Regions from separate parts of the Homo sapiens genome. Here region 2 is linked to region 1. Evidence: promoter capture Hi-C in human tissues and cell types (Jung and others, 2019). All regions are on one chromosome and are shown on one strand. Each heading gives the region's core, a stretch centred on a gene start or on the middle of the fragment in contact. The rest is flanking DNA. Distances are from core to core; before and after follow the strand shown.

Region 1 (7,361 bases), core at 3,610-6,109:
CACCCACAATCTAGTGTGTAAATTTCAGGTTTCCAAGTGTTCCAAAGCCGCGCACAAATTTCGGAACCAGACCAAGAATCCTGGACTCTAGACGTTGCCTGGGGGCCGATCCTGCGCCCAGGGTCCCAGAATCTAACTGAAATGCGCCTGCGGGCCGCCACCTTCGCCCCGGGCCACGGCTTTGCCAGGAATGCCCGCCGCCACAGCTGAACTCCCGCCCGCCCGCCTGGGTCGGATCAGACGCGGGTAGTGGCTTGCGCTTCGTGGTCCTCGGGTCCGGAACGCAGGGAAAGCGCGTGGAGCCAACCTAGAGCGGGAGCAGGGTCTGGCTTGACTCTGTCCCCGATTCGTTGTGCGCAGTGGGACAAGTCCGCGCCGTCCGGAGCCGACTTCCCCTTCTCGTTGTGGCCGTAAAGCTGCTGGACCTCCAAGCCGGCTCCTGCGCTCCCCGCTGCTCTGAGAACACTGAGTGTCCCGGGCCCGCGCAGACTGGGTTGGGAGAGGGCTCTGTGGGAGGGCTTGCGGGGAGCGGGGTAAGAAAGGCTAGGTGCTTCTTACCTACGTAAGAAACGTTGGTGGCGGGATCTAAGCAAACGGGGAGGTGGGAAGCAGAAGGTTCCCCTTCCTGGGCCCCAGTTCCTCCATCCTGTCCCCTGGGTGACAGTGATTCGCTGTTCATAGTGTTTAAGTGGACCAACTTAAAGGGAGAGAGCGCTTGCCGAGCTCTGGGAAACCGAAAGGGTCCACGCCCGCGGGAGCCTCGGAGACTCAAAATCCCCCGCTAGACCGCAGAAAATGTTACACTTTAATCAACCGCTACTTCTTCCGTGGAGAGGGGCGGTGGGTGGGGGTGTGCGCATCTCATCGCGGCCTGTGAGTGGAACAGGCTAGAATTATCCCCAGCGTCTTTTTTCCATGTCCAAGTTTCGCCTTAAAACAATTTAAAAGAGGAAGAAGAGGACCGCGCGTCTGTAAGGCGCTCCACTTTATCACCTTGACTCGGTGGAAGAGAAAGCACAGATATGGGATATCCCCACATACACACTTCACAGATAGAGAAACTGAGGCCTAAGAAGGGCAGTGGATGGTTTAAAGTCGCTGGGTGGGTCTTGAGCAATCTTGGGTGGAAACCCTCACAACACTGGTGCTGCCTTACATGGATGTCTTCTGTGGTCAGCAGGACGAGTGTGACTTGGGGGCCCCCTTTTGTGACAGTGTCTTGCTCTGATGCTCTCTAGGGCCATACAGCCCACTGACCCAGACAGAATGCACTGGAGTAACCTAAACAGGTCACTGCGATGCTGCTGTAAGGAGATCCTTGGATCAGATTTGCAAGTGTGGACGCCTGGAGTTTTGTTGTTCAGTAAAAAGGGCAGCCCAGGCCAAAGAATTAAGTACAAGTAAGGCTCTGAGAACTCAAGAAAAGACAGAGAGGCTTTGGGGCCAAAGAGTAAGGCCCAAAGACCTGAGTTTCCTTCTCAGCCCAAGGCTTTTCTCTCTACAAGTCCCTTCCACAATCCAGGCCCAGTCTCCTTCCAGCTTGAATTTCCATGGTTTCTTTAATAGAAGAACTGGTTACCTCTGCGTCTGCATGCAGGGGAATCTCCGTCAAGGAATCTGGAGGAATTTTCCTTGACTCCTTGGACCCCTCTCGTTTTTATTTACAAAGTCGCCCATTCAAAACTGAGGAAAGCAGCTGTTGCAGAAGAACATCTTCTAAAGATTCCCAATAGCACCTCCAGCCCCCTATGCACATAAAATGGCCTGCTGCAGGCTGGCTTCTCCAGGGGTGCTGGGAATACTTGAAGGGCTGAAGATCAGTGGGAAGCAGAAATCACTGGCCTGCCCACATCAACACCAACCCACCCCTGCTGGATTGGGAGAATGATTTCCAAGGGTCTGGAACCTGCCCTTCCTAACTTCCAGATGATTCATAAACGTTAAGGAGCACTGTGGCAGAGAAGAGGGGAGGACTTGGCCATGACCATGTTCCTTCTCAAGAAACTGAGAAGGAAGCAATGGGAAGAGATAGGAAATGCCCCGAGGAGATTTTTGTGTATGGTTTTGATCCAAACGGGTAAACTTGTGACCTGTGTACTCACCAAATCATTTAATGTGAACTCACTGTGGACTCACAGAATCTTCAAATGCATTATTCAAAGAGAACATTTATGAAATAGAAATTTAGGGGTCCTTGGTTTGCGAAAATCTTAGAATCATGATCTTGGAAATTCTAATCTCATGATGCTAGGTATTTGGTCTCGGCCACAGGAGTAGCTTGATATTAACAAAGTTTGAGAAAACCATCAGAATTCTAGAAGAATGAGGTCACAGACACAAGACACTGAAGAACAGAAAATCCTGAGACAAGAAGGCTTTTAGCCATAGTCGTTGCAGCTTAAAAGTAGAGGATCATAAAGTCATGGGACTAATCATTACAGCATATAATCACAAACATTAGAAGAATTATTGGAATCAGATTATTTGAACTACAGAATAGCAGATCCAGCACTAACATTTTAGAATTAAGGAAGGAGAGAACTGCGGATTTACAGGATTCAAATTCTTCCAATCAGACATTCCTAAACAGGAATTCAAATTAAATAATATATAACTTAGAGTGGAAAAAATAAAAAACTGGAGAAGTGGCAGCTTCAAGAGTGGCATCATATTTTCAGGCACAAAATCTTAGGTCCCCGTTTTTTGTTTGTTTTGTTTTGCTTTTAAGAGACCGGGTCTCCCTTTGCTGCACAGGCTGGAGTGCTGTGGCTACTCACAGGCACAATGATTGTGCACTACAGCCTGGAACTCCTGGGCTCAAGCGATCTTCCTGCCTTAACCTCCAGTAGCTGGGACTACAGGCTCCCGCCACCGTGCCTGGTTTAGTCCCAGTATCTTAATACATAGGTTTTTAGACTTTGACTAGAAGCTTAAGTCAAAGGAATATAAGCATAGTCAAAGTTAGACTCCCAGTCTTGGAATCTTAGAATTACAGGGTCGCAGGATCGCAGGATCGCATTCTTTAGATTTATGGAATCACGTTAGGACAACGGTCGTCCAGAATTTAAAATCTAGATATCTGAATCTCAGAATCTTGAAAGTTACTGAGAGCCACGAAATCCCGTATTAAAAGGTGCCTATAATATAATCCAGTTAAAAATTTTAAAATTTGAAGTTTTTCCTCCTTTGTAAAAACGAAACAGGACGAAATCTGGGTTTTTTGCTTCTCCATTACTTGGGAAGAAGGAAACCAGGAGTTTTGTTTAGCGAGTGTAAAGCCCCTCTCCCTTCGTTCGACCAACCCTCTGCCGCAGAAGGTTGTCAAGCAAACGCTTTGAGCGTTTCCACACACCGGGTCGACGGAGCAAGGATCTGGGCTTTGCCTCGCTCTTCCGAAGGCAGCTGCCCAACGCTTGGCCGGGCTTAGCCTGCCCTCAGCTCACCGCCACGAAGAACGCGACTAAAACCCTGGAAGGCATGCCACCCGTTACTGGCCAGAACTCTCGTCTTGGGATCTCCCACACTCACCTGGCACCACCATCCGCGCGGCTCTGCACCCACAGCCCCGGCCCGCCCCCCCCCCCCACCCCGGAAAGCTGCGTCCGGGCTGGAGCCACTGGAACCCGCGCCAAGGCCCGGAATCCTATACGTAGCAGGGGCCTCGGAGATCAGCACACGCCCTCCAGCTGCTATTTAACAGAGTAGAACACTGAGGCCCTGCGAGGGGACAAGGACAGGCCCTGGATCTCCCAGTGAATGGCCAGGGAACGAACCCGGGCCAGAGGGGCCGCGCCGCGAGGATCTCAGGTTAGGACCAAGTTCCGGCTCAGGGACAGCAGGAAAGGAACTCAGAAATTGGACACCCATGAAGCAAACGTGTCCCGACTGCCCGCCCCTTCCCCCGGAGACGCGCCCACCCGGCCACCGCTCTCTTCCCACTCCCCCATTACCCGCAGCCCTCACTCCCCGCTGCGGGAAGGGGCTGCTTGGCTGCCTCTGGGGGTCTTCAGAGCTACCCTGGTCCCGGGGGATTGGAGGAGGAGGTTACCTATCCTGCGTCGTCTTTAATCCGTGCACCACTATCCATCAAATAGAGACAGATCCTGGGCCTCTCAAAGACGGATGATTGGGGGTGGTGATTGGCCTATCCCTAAATATCTACCACGCAAGGACTCTTGAGAGATCCAGACCCCGGTACAGTCGAGGGACCTGGGGCCCAAAAAGGGAAAGCGGCTACCTCTACCACACAGTTGGGAAGCGCAGTCCTAAAGGAGACGCAGGTTGGAGACTCCGCTAAGCGGAGAAGCCGCAGTGGGGCCATGGCAAGTCACCTTCCCTTTCGGGCCTAGGAATACTCATTCGAAAGATGGGGGGACTGGAGTGCCGAGTGGCTGTGGCAGCCACGATTGGGGTTTGGAAACCATCCTGAAAGGCCCGGGGAGCCAGTCTCCTGGAACTTCTCCCTCCCCATTCCCACAAAAACCAAGCGCCCTCTCGGCCAATTCTCACCCTCTCAGGACAAAAAAGTGAGATGAGCCCGTCCTTTCACCTGCGAGTCCAAGCCCTTGGCAGAGGCCTGAAAAGTCCGAAAACTCCGAGTTCGGGCGCTGAGGTCTCCCGAGCCGGTTCCTGAACTCTCCGGGCCTCAGTCGATCGGGGTGCGGAGGGGGCCGACCCGGGGGATCTCCAAGCGCCCTCCCCGCCCTGACGCTGTGGGGCTCCTACCGCGCCGCCACAGCTGCTCCTACCTGGGGAGGTGCGCCCGGGCCCCGGGGGGCGGGCAGTCGGGGGGCGGGCAGGGAACCGGTGCCGCCCCACGCTTCGTGGCCCCTTTAAGGAGGGGAAGCCGGCGGAGGGAGGAGCCGGTCCGGTGTGTGCAGGGGAGCGCCTCGCCAGCGGTCCGCAGGGCTGGAGACCCACGCCGTGGAGAGGACCAGCCTCAGGTCGCCCCGCCTGGGCCCGCGCCCCGACCTCGCTGCCCCCGCCTCGCCTCTCTGCCCGTGGCGCTTACGGCCACCTTGGCCTCGGGGGCAGGGCATGGGCGGCCCCCGCCAGATCGCCCAGCGCCAGTACTAACTGCCCTCGCTCTGGCCTTCGAGCCCGAAGCCTCTTCTGCGCGCACAACCTAGGCAGTAATCCTAAACTAGCGGGCACCACAGACCAGCTGCAGCCACCCCAACCCAGGGATCACTTCCGGACCCCTCGACCGCCCGGCACCAGCGCGCAAGGGACCCTTCAGCCGGAGACCAGAGTCCAGTCCCGGTCACGAGGCCACCGCCGCTGCCCGCCTCGAGAAGCACCACGCGGGCTGAGCCGTCGGCTAGCGGGTCACTCCCGAGCCTCTGTCTGCACCGCGCCAGCCCCAGACCACGGACGCTGAGCCTCCAGCGCGTGCCAGCCTGGGCCGCTGGGCTCTCGGGGCCAGCCCGCGACGATCCCCTGAGCTCTCCGCAGAAGGGCCGAGCGTCCGTTCCGGGGACGCCAGGCCCGCCCCCGCCCCCCGACAGCCGCGGGGATCCAGAGCCCGGGGGTGCGGGACGCCCGCGCCATGACTGCCGAGAGCGGGCCGCCGCCGCCGCAGCCGGAGGTGCTGGCTACCGTGAAGGAAGAGCGCGGCGAGACGGCAGCAGGGGCCGGGGTCCCAGGGGAGGCCACGGGCCGCGGGGCGGGCGGGCGGCGCCGCAAGCGCCCCCTGCAGCGCGGGAAGCCGCCCTACAGCTACATCGCGCTCATCGCCATGGCCATCGCGCACGCGCCCGAGCGCCGCCTCACGCTGGGCGGCATCTACAAGTTCATCACCGAGCGCTTCCCCTTCTACCGCGACAACCCCAAAAAGTGGCAGAACAGCATCCGCCACAACCTCACACTCAACGACTGCTTCCTCAAGATCCCGCGCGAGGCCGGCCGCCCGGGTAAGGGCAACTACTGGGCGCTTGACCCCAACGCGGAGGACATGTTCGAGAGCGGCAGCTTCCTGCGCCGCCGCAAGCGCTTCAAGCGCTCGGACCTCTCCACCTACCCGGCTTACATGCACGACGCGGCGGCTGCCGCAGCCGCCGCCGCCGCCGCCGCCGCCGCCGCCGCCATCTTCCCAGGCGCGGTGCCCGCCGCGCGCCCCCCCTACCCGGGCGCCGTCTATGCAGGCTACGCGCCGCCGTCGCTGGCCGCGCCGCCTCCAGTCTACTACCCCGCGGCGTCGCCCGGCCCTTGCCGCGTCTTCGGCCTGGTTCCTGAGCGGCCGCTCAGCCCAGAGCTGGGGCCCGCACCGTCGGGGCCCGGCGGCTCTTGCGCCTTTGCCTCCGCCGGCGCCCCCGCTACCACCACCGGCTACCAGCCCGCAGGCTGCACCGGGGCCCGGCCGGCCAACCCCTCCGCCTATGCGGCTGCCTACGCGGGCCCCGACGGCGCGTACCCGCAGGGCGCCGGCAGTGCGATCTTTGCCGCTGCTGGCCGCCTGGCGGGACCCGCTTCGCCCCCAGCGGGCGGCAGCAGTGGCGGCGTGGAGACCACGGTGGACTTCTACGGGCGCACGTCGCCCGGCCAGTTCGGAGCGCTGGGAGCCTGCTACAACCCTGGCGGGCAGCTCGGAGGGGCCAGTGCAGGCGCCTACCATGCTCGCCATGCTGCCGCTTATCCCGGTGGGATAGATCGGTTCGTGTCCGCCATGTGAGCCAGCGTAGGGACGAAAACTCATAGACACATCGGCTGTTCACACGTTCCCCGCAATCTGAGAACGAACAGGAATGGAGAGAGGACTCAACTGGGACCCACGTGGAAAAGACCGAGCAGGCCACAGAGGCTCGGTCTCCCCGCGCACAGCGTAGGCACCCGGTGTACTCTGTAAACGGGAGGAGGTGGGGCGAGGCAGCCAGAGCCCTTGGACTGGCACAGGGACCCTCGATGGAGCGAAGCCCTCAAACGGGATGCTTTCTGGTATTCTATCGGGGAGGGTCCTTGGCGGTAACCAGAGGGCAGCGTAGTGTCAACACCAGAGACCAGGATCCAAATTGTGGGGAATCAGTTTCAGCCTTCCATGTGCTGCCGGAACTCGGGCCTTTTTACGCGGTTCGTCCTCTAGTGCCTTTAACTGCGTTACTACAATAAAAGGCTGCGGCAGCGCCTTTCTTCTTAAAGTGAGGAGGACAAATTTGCAAAAGAAATAGGCTTTTCTTCTTTTTTAAATTGGAGAAATCTCTGCTCTGGTTGACCTGGGCTGGTTTTCCCTGTCTCTGAGAACTTGAGACCTAGCTCCGAGTTGAACTGTGCGTCAGCACTCCAGTCCCATCACCTGAACCTTCAGTCTCCCCCATCTGTTACACTAGAGGGCTGCAGGACTCTATCCACCGCCCCCGGGTTATCAT
Region 2 (7,783 bases), core at 697-3,196, 150 kb after region 1:
ACTGATGGTTCCAAAGAAATGAGGTATTGCAACAAAATTTCAAGGTATGGTAAATAAAATCAGAAGAACTTTACATCATAAAAGTCTGGTAACATGTCAGTCTTTTCCCCAAATACTAAAAAAGAAGAGTGCAATGTTTCTCCGTATTTCCGAAGTTTCAACTCTGCGCCCCTCTGCTTTTTCCTCAGCCCATATTGACTCCTGTCTTCCCTGAAAGTAGCTGCATTGCCACACTTTATATTTTATTATATTTCATCCTCTAGTGTTTCATGTCTGTGCCCTAACTAAAATTGTAAGCACCCTAAGATTGTGTTATAAATCTCTGAATTTTTCCCTATACTGCCACCCTAGAACATTAAAGACCGCTTGATACCCAGGAAGTTCTTAATGGCCATTTGATTACTCAAATGTTAACATTTGTTTCAGCTAAATTTATTAAACTGTTTGATTGTCTCATACTGTGAAAATACCTGGATTTAATAAAAATTATTTTCAATTTATATTTCTTTAGACTACTATGCTGCCAGAAAAACACATAGTTCTCTGGGAGAGTAGATAAAGGAAGAGAGGGACTAAAGTCTAGTAACCTAATATAAAGGTTGCAAAAGACTTGATGTATTTTTCTATATATGAGGCTGAGTGGGTAGTGGAAATTGAATATAGAGCCTAGAATTTTACCTCTTCAAGAGATGGATTTGTTACTTATATTCCTTTGGTTTAGGAGTTGTGGTTTTTGATCCTTTTCTTCAGAAAAAGTTAGAATGTCTGAAAAGCCTGGACCTCTTTAACTGTGAGGTTACCAACCTGAATGACTACCGAGAGAGTGTCTTCAAGCTCCTGCCCCAGCTTACCTACTTGGATGGCTATGACCGAGAGGACCAGGAAGCACCTGACTCAGATGCCGAGGTGGATGGTGTGGATGAAGAGGAGGAGGACGAAGGTGAGTAGGCTCAGCATCTGGTGAACCTGATGTCTGCCTTTCAAAGCCTCTGATAAAAGCTATTGGATGTTGGCCGGGCGCAGTGGCACACAACCGTAATCCCAGCACTTTGGGTGGCCGAGGCAGGGGGCATTGCTTGAGCCCAGGAGTTTGAGACTAGCCTGGGCAACATGGCAATACCTTGTTTCTACAGAAAATAGAAAAAAAAAAAATTAGCCAGGTGTGGTGGCGCACACCTGGAGTCTTAGCTACTCAGAAGACTGGAGGCCGAGGTGGGAGGATCACTTGAACCTAGGAGTTTGAGGCTACAGTGAGCCATGATTGTTCCCCACTGCACTCCGTCTCAGAAGACAGACAGGGTGTCTCAAAAAAAAAAGCTACTAGATGTTCTTACTATTGAGGAAAATAGTGTGTGTTTGTGTGCGTGCGCACGCGTGTATTTTTTGAATGTAGGCATTCCATTAAATTTATAGCTAAGGCCTATTTCATAAGCACCTGGCCTCAAGGGATCCTCCCACCTCAGCCTCCCCAAGTGGTGGGATTACAGGGATGAGACACTGAACCTGGCCCGGGAAGCATTTCCTGAAGTCTACAAGCTAAGTTAGGATGCTGTGCGTTTAAACTGTAAACCGCTTGCTCTTACAGGCTTGCCACTCTGCTGTTCTTAAGTCTTCCTACTTCAGGGGTCTTCAACCCACAGGCCACAGACTGGTACTACTCCATGACCTGTTAGAAACCAGGCCGCATGAGCAGTGAGGAAGCCTCATCTGTATTTACAGCCACTCCCCATTGCTCACATTACTGTCTGGGCTCCACCTCCTGTCAGATCAATGGTGGTATTAGATTCTCATAGGAACGAGAATCCTATTGTGAACTGCACATGTGAGGGGGCTAGGTTGTGTGCTCCTTAGAAGAATCTAATGCCTGATGATCCGAGGTGGAGCTGAGGTGGTGATGCTAGAGCTGAGGTGGTGATGCTAGCACTGGGGAGTGGCTGCAAATACAGATTAACATTAGCAAAGAGGTTTGACTTTACAGAGATGATAATAAATCAATTGCTTGCAGACTCATCAACCCCTATCTGTGAGTGGCAAGTGACAAGCTGCATCTGGTGGCAGGCTTTATAGTGGCAAGTGAGTTGGTGTACTTCAGTTGTACAGCTGTATCTGGTGACAGGCTTTAAGTCAGAATCTGATGCTTTTTTTAGTCAGTGCATGGCCTGCCCATTTTTTTATTTACCACTTCCATCCACACCTCTTTCCCGCACTGCGTATTTGTCTCAGTCACAGTTTTGTTAGGCCCACAAGCTAACTATCCAACATGAGTAAAAAACGTCGCTGGAGAGCTTCTTTGAGAAGGGGGAAAGACCCAATAATGAGACAGCAGAAGACAAGACTGCCAATGAAAAGAAAGCTTCATTGAAAAGAAAATACCAAGAGTGCTACTTAAATTACAGGTTCATTGCAACAGATGATTCACATTCTCCAAGCCCACTTTGTATAATATGTGGCAACAAGCTATCCAACAAAGCCATGAAACCTTCAAAACCACTTCACTGGCTGGGCACAGTGGCTCATGCCTGTAATCCCAGCACTTACAGAGGCCGAGGTAGATCACCTGAGGTCAGGAGTTCAAGACCAGCCTGGCCAACATGGGGAAACCCTGGCTCTGCAAAAATACAAAAATTAACCAGGCATGGTGGTGCACACCTTTAGTCCCAGCTTCTCGGGAGGCTGAGGCATGAGAATTGCTTGAACCTGGGAGGCGGAGGTTGCAGTGAGCCGAGATTGTGCCGCTGTGCTTTAGCCTGGGCGATAGAGCAAGACTCCATCTCAAAAAACAAACAAACAAAAAAAAAACTGCTTCACCACTTGGAGACCAAGCACCCTGCGTTTAAAAGACAAGCCTTTGGAGTTTTTCAAAAGAAATAAACATGAACGTGAAAAACAGAGGCAATTATTGAAAGCTCCCACTTCATCAAATGTGACTGCACTGAGAACATCTCATTCTTAGTGGCTAACTGCATTGCTAAAGCTAAGAAGCCCTTAACTAACTGCATTGCTAAAGTAAGAAGCCCTTTACTATTGAAGAGTTGATCCTGCCTGCTGCTAAGGACATTTGTCATGAACTTTTAGGAGAGGCTGCAGTTAAGCTGCAGTTCAAAAGGTGGCACATGTTCCTCTTTGAGCTAGCACCATAACTAGATGAATTGATGACATAGTAGAGGATATTGAGGCATAGTTGTTAGAGAGGATTGATGAGTCACCGTGGTACACATTGCAGGTTGACAAGTCTGCCGATGTTGACAACATGGCAACAATGCTTGTTTTTGTGCAATATATTTTCAGGAGGATGTGCATGAGACTATGTTATGTGTACTTCGTTGCCAACCAGCACCACAGCTGCAGAACTATTCAAGTCTTTTGAACGATTACATATCAGGAAAACTGAATTGGTCATTTTGTGTCGTATATGCACAGATGGAGCGGCTGCCATGGCTGGACGGCTTTCTGGTTTCACTACTCGAGTCAGAGAGGTCGCTTCTGGATGTGAGTCTATGCACTGTGTCATCCATAGAGAAATGCTGGCTAGCTGACAAATGTCACCTGAACTTAACGTTTTGCAGGATGTGATTAAAATTAACCACATTAAAGTACATGCCCTTAACCCATGTCTGTTCACGCAGTTCTGTGAGATGGATGCAGAGAATACTTCTCTTACACAGAGAAGCGAGATGGCGTTCTAAAGGTGGATCACTGGCCAGAGTTTTTGAGTTAAGAGGCCTGCTCCAGAGATTTCTCTAAGAATAACAGTCACCACTAGCAGAACATTTTAGTAACACAGAATGAGTGGTAAAACTTTTTTTTTTAAGTTCAGGGGTACATGTGCACGTTTGTCGCAGAGATAAACGTGTACCATCCCATCACCTAAGTATTAAGCCCACTGTCCATTAGCTAGTTTTCCTGATGCTCTCCGTCCCCAGCCTCCACAGGCCCCAGTGTGTGTTGTTCCCCTCCATGTGTCCATGTATACTCATCATTCAGCCCCCACTTACAAGTGAGAACATACGATACTTAGTTTTCTGTTCTGAGCATTGGGATTTTTGACATGTTTCAAACAGTAGGAGTGATTTTTGAAAGAGAGTGAGCCAGGGCCTTCTTTCTCACAGCTGGTGCATGATCACCTATCTCAGCTCTCAAAAGAGTTTGAGCATTACTTCCCAACCACAAAAGACCCCCGAACTGGGAAGGAATGGATCCACAACCCATTTATGAATAAGCCAGGTCAATCGACTTTGTTCATGCTTGAAGAGGATCAACTGGTTGAGATCACAAATGGCAGTGGCCTTAAAAGTATGGTTTGAGACAACTTCAAAATCTCCATATATTCTGGATTAAAGTCGAGGTGGAATATCCTGAGATTGCCAAAAAAGCACTGAAAAACCTGCTTCCATTTCCAATATCCTATCTTTGTGAAGCAAAGTTTTCTGCAGTGACAGCAACCAAAACAAGATTATGGAGTATACTGGACATAAGCAGCACACACTTCGAATGTCACTGTCTCTCATTGCCCCCAGATGGGACTGTCTAGTTGCAGGGAAAACAAGCTCAGGGTTCCCATTGATTCCACATTATGATGAGTTGTATAATTATATCATTATATATTACAATGTAATAATAGAAATAAAGTGCAGAATAAACATAATGCGTTTGAATCATCCTGAAACCATCCCCCCACCCCCAGGCTGTGGAAACATTGTCTTCCACAAAACTGGTCCCTGGTGCCAAAAAGGTTGAGGACCGCTGTCCTACTGCACTACAGTCATCATCTTGGGTAGATACTTATCTCCTGATTCACAGGGCCTGACACTGAGTAGGTACTTGGTACCTGTTTGTTATTGCCAGCTATAAATAAAATAGCTTTCCCTTCCATTGACATATGACCAGAGTTTTAAAAGGTAATGATTTCAAATAACTATATGTTAGATTCCGTTTTTCATTCATAAGGGAAATAATCTCTGATCATAACATAGAATTAAAAGATGATTTTCAGTAGTTTTGGCATTTGACCCAGGATTTATACATATTTTACAGATTTACAGATTTTAAGAAATAACTAATACTTTCTACCCAAGATATTCCTCCTGATTAGTTTGTGTTTTCTTTGCATGCTGAGTTTGTTTATTCTCAGTCACTCTTAGAATAAAACGCTTCTCACGTACAGGTGGCTTAGAGCAGCAGTCTCCAACCTTTTTGGCACCAGGGACTGGTTTCATGGAAGACAGTTTTTCCACAGATGCAGGGAAGGGGTTGGGGGCGGCAGCTGAATGGTTTTGGGATGAAACGGTTCCACCTTAGATCAGGCATTAGATTCTCATAAGGAATGCACAGTCCAGATCCCTCACATGCGCAGTTCACAATAGAATTTGCACTCCTATGAGGATCTAACAGGTGATGTGACAGGAGGCGGAGTTCACGTGGTAATGGTCACTGGCCTGCTCTTCACCACCTGCTGTGCGGCCCAGGCCACAGACCAGTACCAGTCCTGGGAGTTGGGAACCCCTGGTTTGGAGGAAGCAGAATGATTAGTTTTCACATCAGTCAGCATGAGTATTTCTTTTCTTTAAAAATTAGCACATATGACAGAAATTATCAAGAAAATAGAGGAGGAAAAGCATCAAGGAGTTTGGGTGCAGTTAATGGTATAATTCTCTGGAAGCATTTTTACAGTTTTATTTTGAAGCATATTGAGACAGGCAAAAATTAATGAGTTATAAGGTGGTAAAATGGACAGAGAATAGGACATCTCACTTATTTCCAAATGTTATGTCCCTTTGTCCCTTCTACAGTTTTTCCATTTTTCCTAAAAACCATTTGTGCTTGTTGTCTATTTAAGTTCACCTCAAACAGGAAGAACAGCCACATGTGCAAGAGCCAGTAAAGGACATTCCTTGGAAGGTGGGGGGCAGTTCCTGAGAGCAAAGATGGGTCAGCCAACAAATACTTGAGCATTTCCTATGTGCCAGGCACTGCGGAAAATAGTGGTTTAAAAAAAAAAGGAACAAAAAAACAAGGTTCCTACCCTCTTGGACCTTACAGAGAAATGGTGTTTTTTTTTTTTTGTTTTTTTTTTTTAAATCATAAATAGGCTAGGTATGGTGGCTCACACTTGTAATCCCAACACTTGGGGAGGGTGAGGCAGGATGATTGCTGGAATCCAGGAGTTCAAGACCAGCCTGGGCAACATAGACAAACCCTATCTGTACAGAAAAAATTGTTTTAAATTAAGAATTCTAAATAATAATTGCAAGTAAGCAAAGTGTGTTGTAATGGAGAAGCACCACATACTCATGGTGAGAGCCTATGACCTGGCATTGGGAGGTCTGGTGAGTAAGACTGCCTAAGGAAGTGATGTTGACTGAGACTCCAAGGTGGAGTCAGAGTTAGCCAAGCAAAGAGGATGGAAAGAGCATGCAGAGACCAGGAGGCAGGTGAGAGCATGGTGTGCTCTAGGACCCAGGAGAAGCAAGAACTGCCGCACTAGAGGTCCGAACAACCAGCTAGAGATGCAGGTGCCTCTCAGCCTCCTGTCCCCTGAGTCACAGGGTTATTATGGGTGTTTCTCAGGTTCCTGATTTGAGCAGCTGACTGTGACTCTGGTAATGATACCCAAGAGAAGGTACATGATTTTTTTTTTTTTAACTTTTTACTGTCAAAAATTTCAGACAGTGACAAAGGGTAAAAATAATAGCAAAATGAACCCCCATGTTCTTATCACTCAGCTTCAGCAATTATTGGTCATAGCTGATCTTATTTTATTCCTGCATACCCTTACCTTCTTCCCCACTCCATATAATTTTGAAGCAAATCTTAGCCATTGTATCATTTCATCAGCGAGAATTATAGTGTTTGTCTTATCTACCAGGACTTCTAGCTCTCTGATTTTATGGGACTCTATCGGACAAAGGGACTGAGCTGTAGCACATAGTAGAAAGAAAGTGACTGCAGTTCGTGGCCTTACAGCATTTGTTCTGTGAGCCAGCCCACAGATCCTCAACACTTTGTCCCCTGTGGAGCGTCGAGGATATTTAATGAATCCCTTTTGGACTATTTTTAGAAGGAGAAGATGAGGAAGACGAGGACGATGAGGATGGTGAAGAAGAGGAGTTTGATGAAGAAGATGATGAAGATGAAGATGTAGAAGGGGATGAGGACGACGATGAAGTCAGTGAGGAGGTCAGTGCAGCTGTTTTCTACCCTGCTTCCTATTTGTAATTACAACAAAAGTGGGGGTTTCAAAAAGATGACAAAAGAAAAGAAAAAACACCTTTTGAAGAAATTAGTATACCTGTGAATACATTTACAATATGAATCTGGTTAATTTAGTGTTTGTCTGGCTTTAAATAACTACTAAATAGAATGCCTACTGAACTCAAACTAGTACGGTTCCTGGCTGTGCAAGGTAAGTTCTGGCCCTCTGGGGGAAGGAATGAATTGAGTATTCAGTGTGGTGAGAAAACTGGACATGTTGAGAATTGATGGTATGTCTGTTCCTTCATTGAATTGTAGGGAAGTTTATGTTTACCAAGTCTAAACTTTTTCTTGTATATTCAGTGTAATTCAGTAAATATATATCTGCTATGTTAAAGAGTTGGGAGTACAAAATGAAATGAGATTGTGGTCCTGCCCTGAAAGAGCACAGTCTGGTTTATGAAATACCCAATAATAGAGGATCCCTGAGGAAATAAATGCTATACGAGGGCAGGAGAAAACAGTGTCTTGACTTTGACCCTCAAAGAGGTTTGGGAAACAGGCAGACAACATTAGTTGTTAACAAAACGCA

What was found. The method cuts DNA at HindIII sites, captures the fragments that hold promoters and counts their contacts. A contact is called where the count stands out against the background at its distance.
Region 2: a fragment that was not itself captured here is called in contact with the fragment with the promoter of FOXE1 in region 1 in 2 of the 25 tissues and cell types used here (IMR-90 fibroblasts and liver).

The regions. Positions count from the first base shown.
Region 1 is chr9:97,848,367-97,855,727 of GRCh38, forward strand. It overlaps FOXE1 (forkhead box E1), which reads left to right and starts at 4,860. Exons shown (of 1, transcript NM_004473.4): 1 at 4,860-7,361. The coding sequence starts at 5,549. The coding sequence ends at 6,670. PTCSC2 (papillary thyroid carcinoma susceptibility candidate 2) reads right to left here and starts at 4,714. Exons shown (of 11, transcript NR_147055.1): 1 at 4,550-4,714. RefSeq lists an enhancer at 3,327-3,828. The HindIII fragment of the contact is 9,888 bases long and covers 704-7,361 here.
Region 2 is chr9:98,004,214-98,011,996 of GRCh38, forward strand. It overlaps ANP32B (acidic nuclear phosphoprotein 32 family member B), which reads left to right. Exons shown (of 7, transcript NM_006401.3): 4 at 751-940; 5 at 7,058-7,176. Among named protein-coding and RNA genes, the nearest start is that of ANP32B, 25 kb to the left of the region's middle. RefSeq lists an enhancer at 6,596-6,665. The HindIII fragment of the contact is 6,325 bases long and covers 1-5,109 here.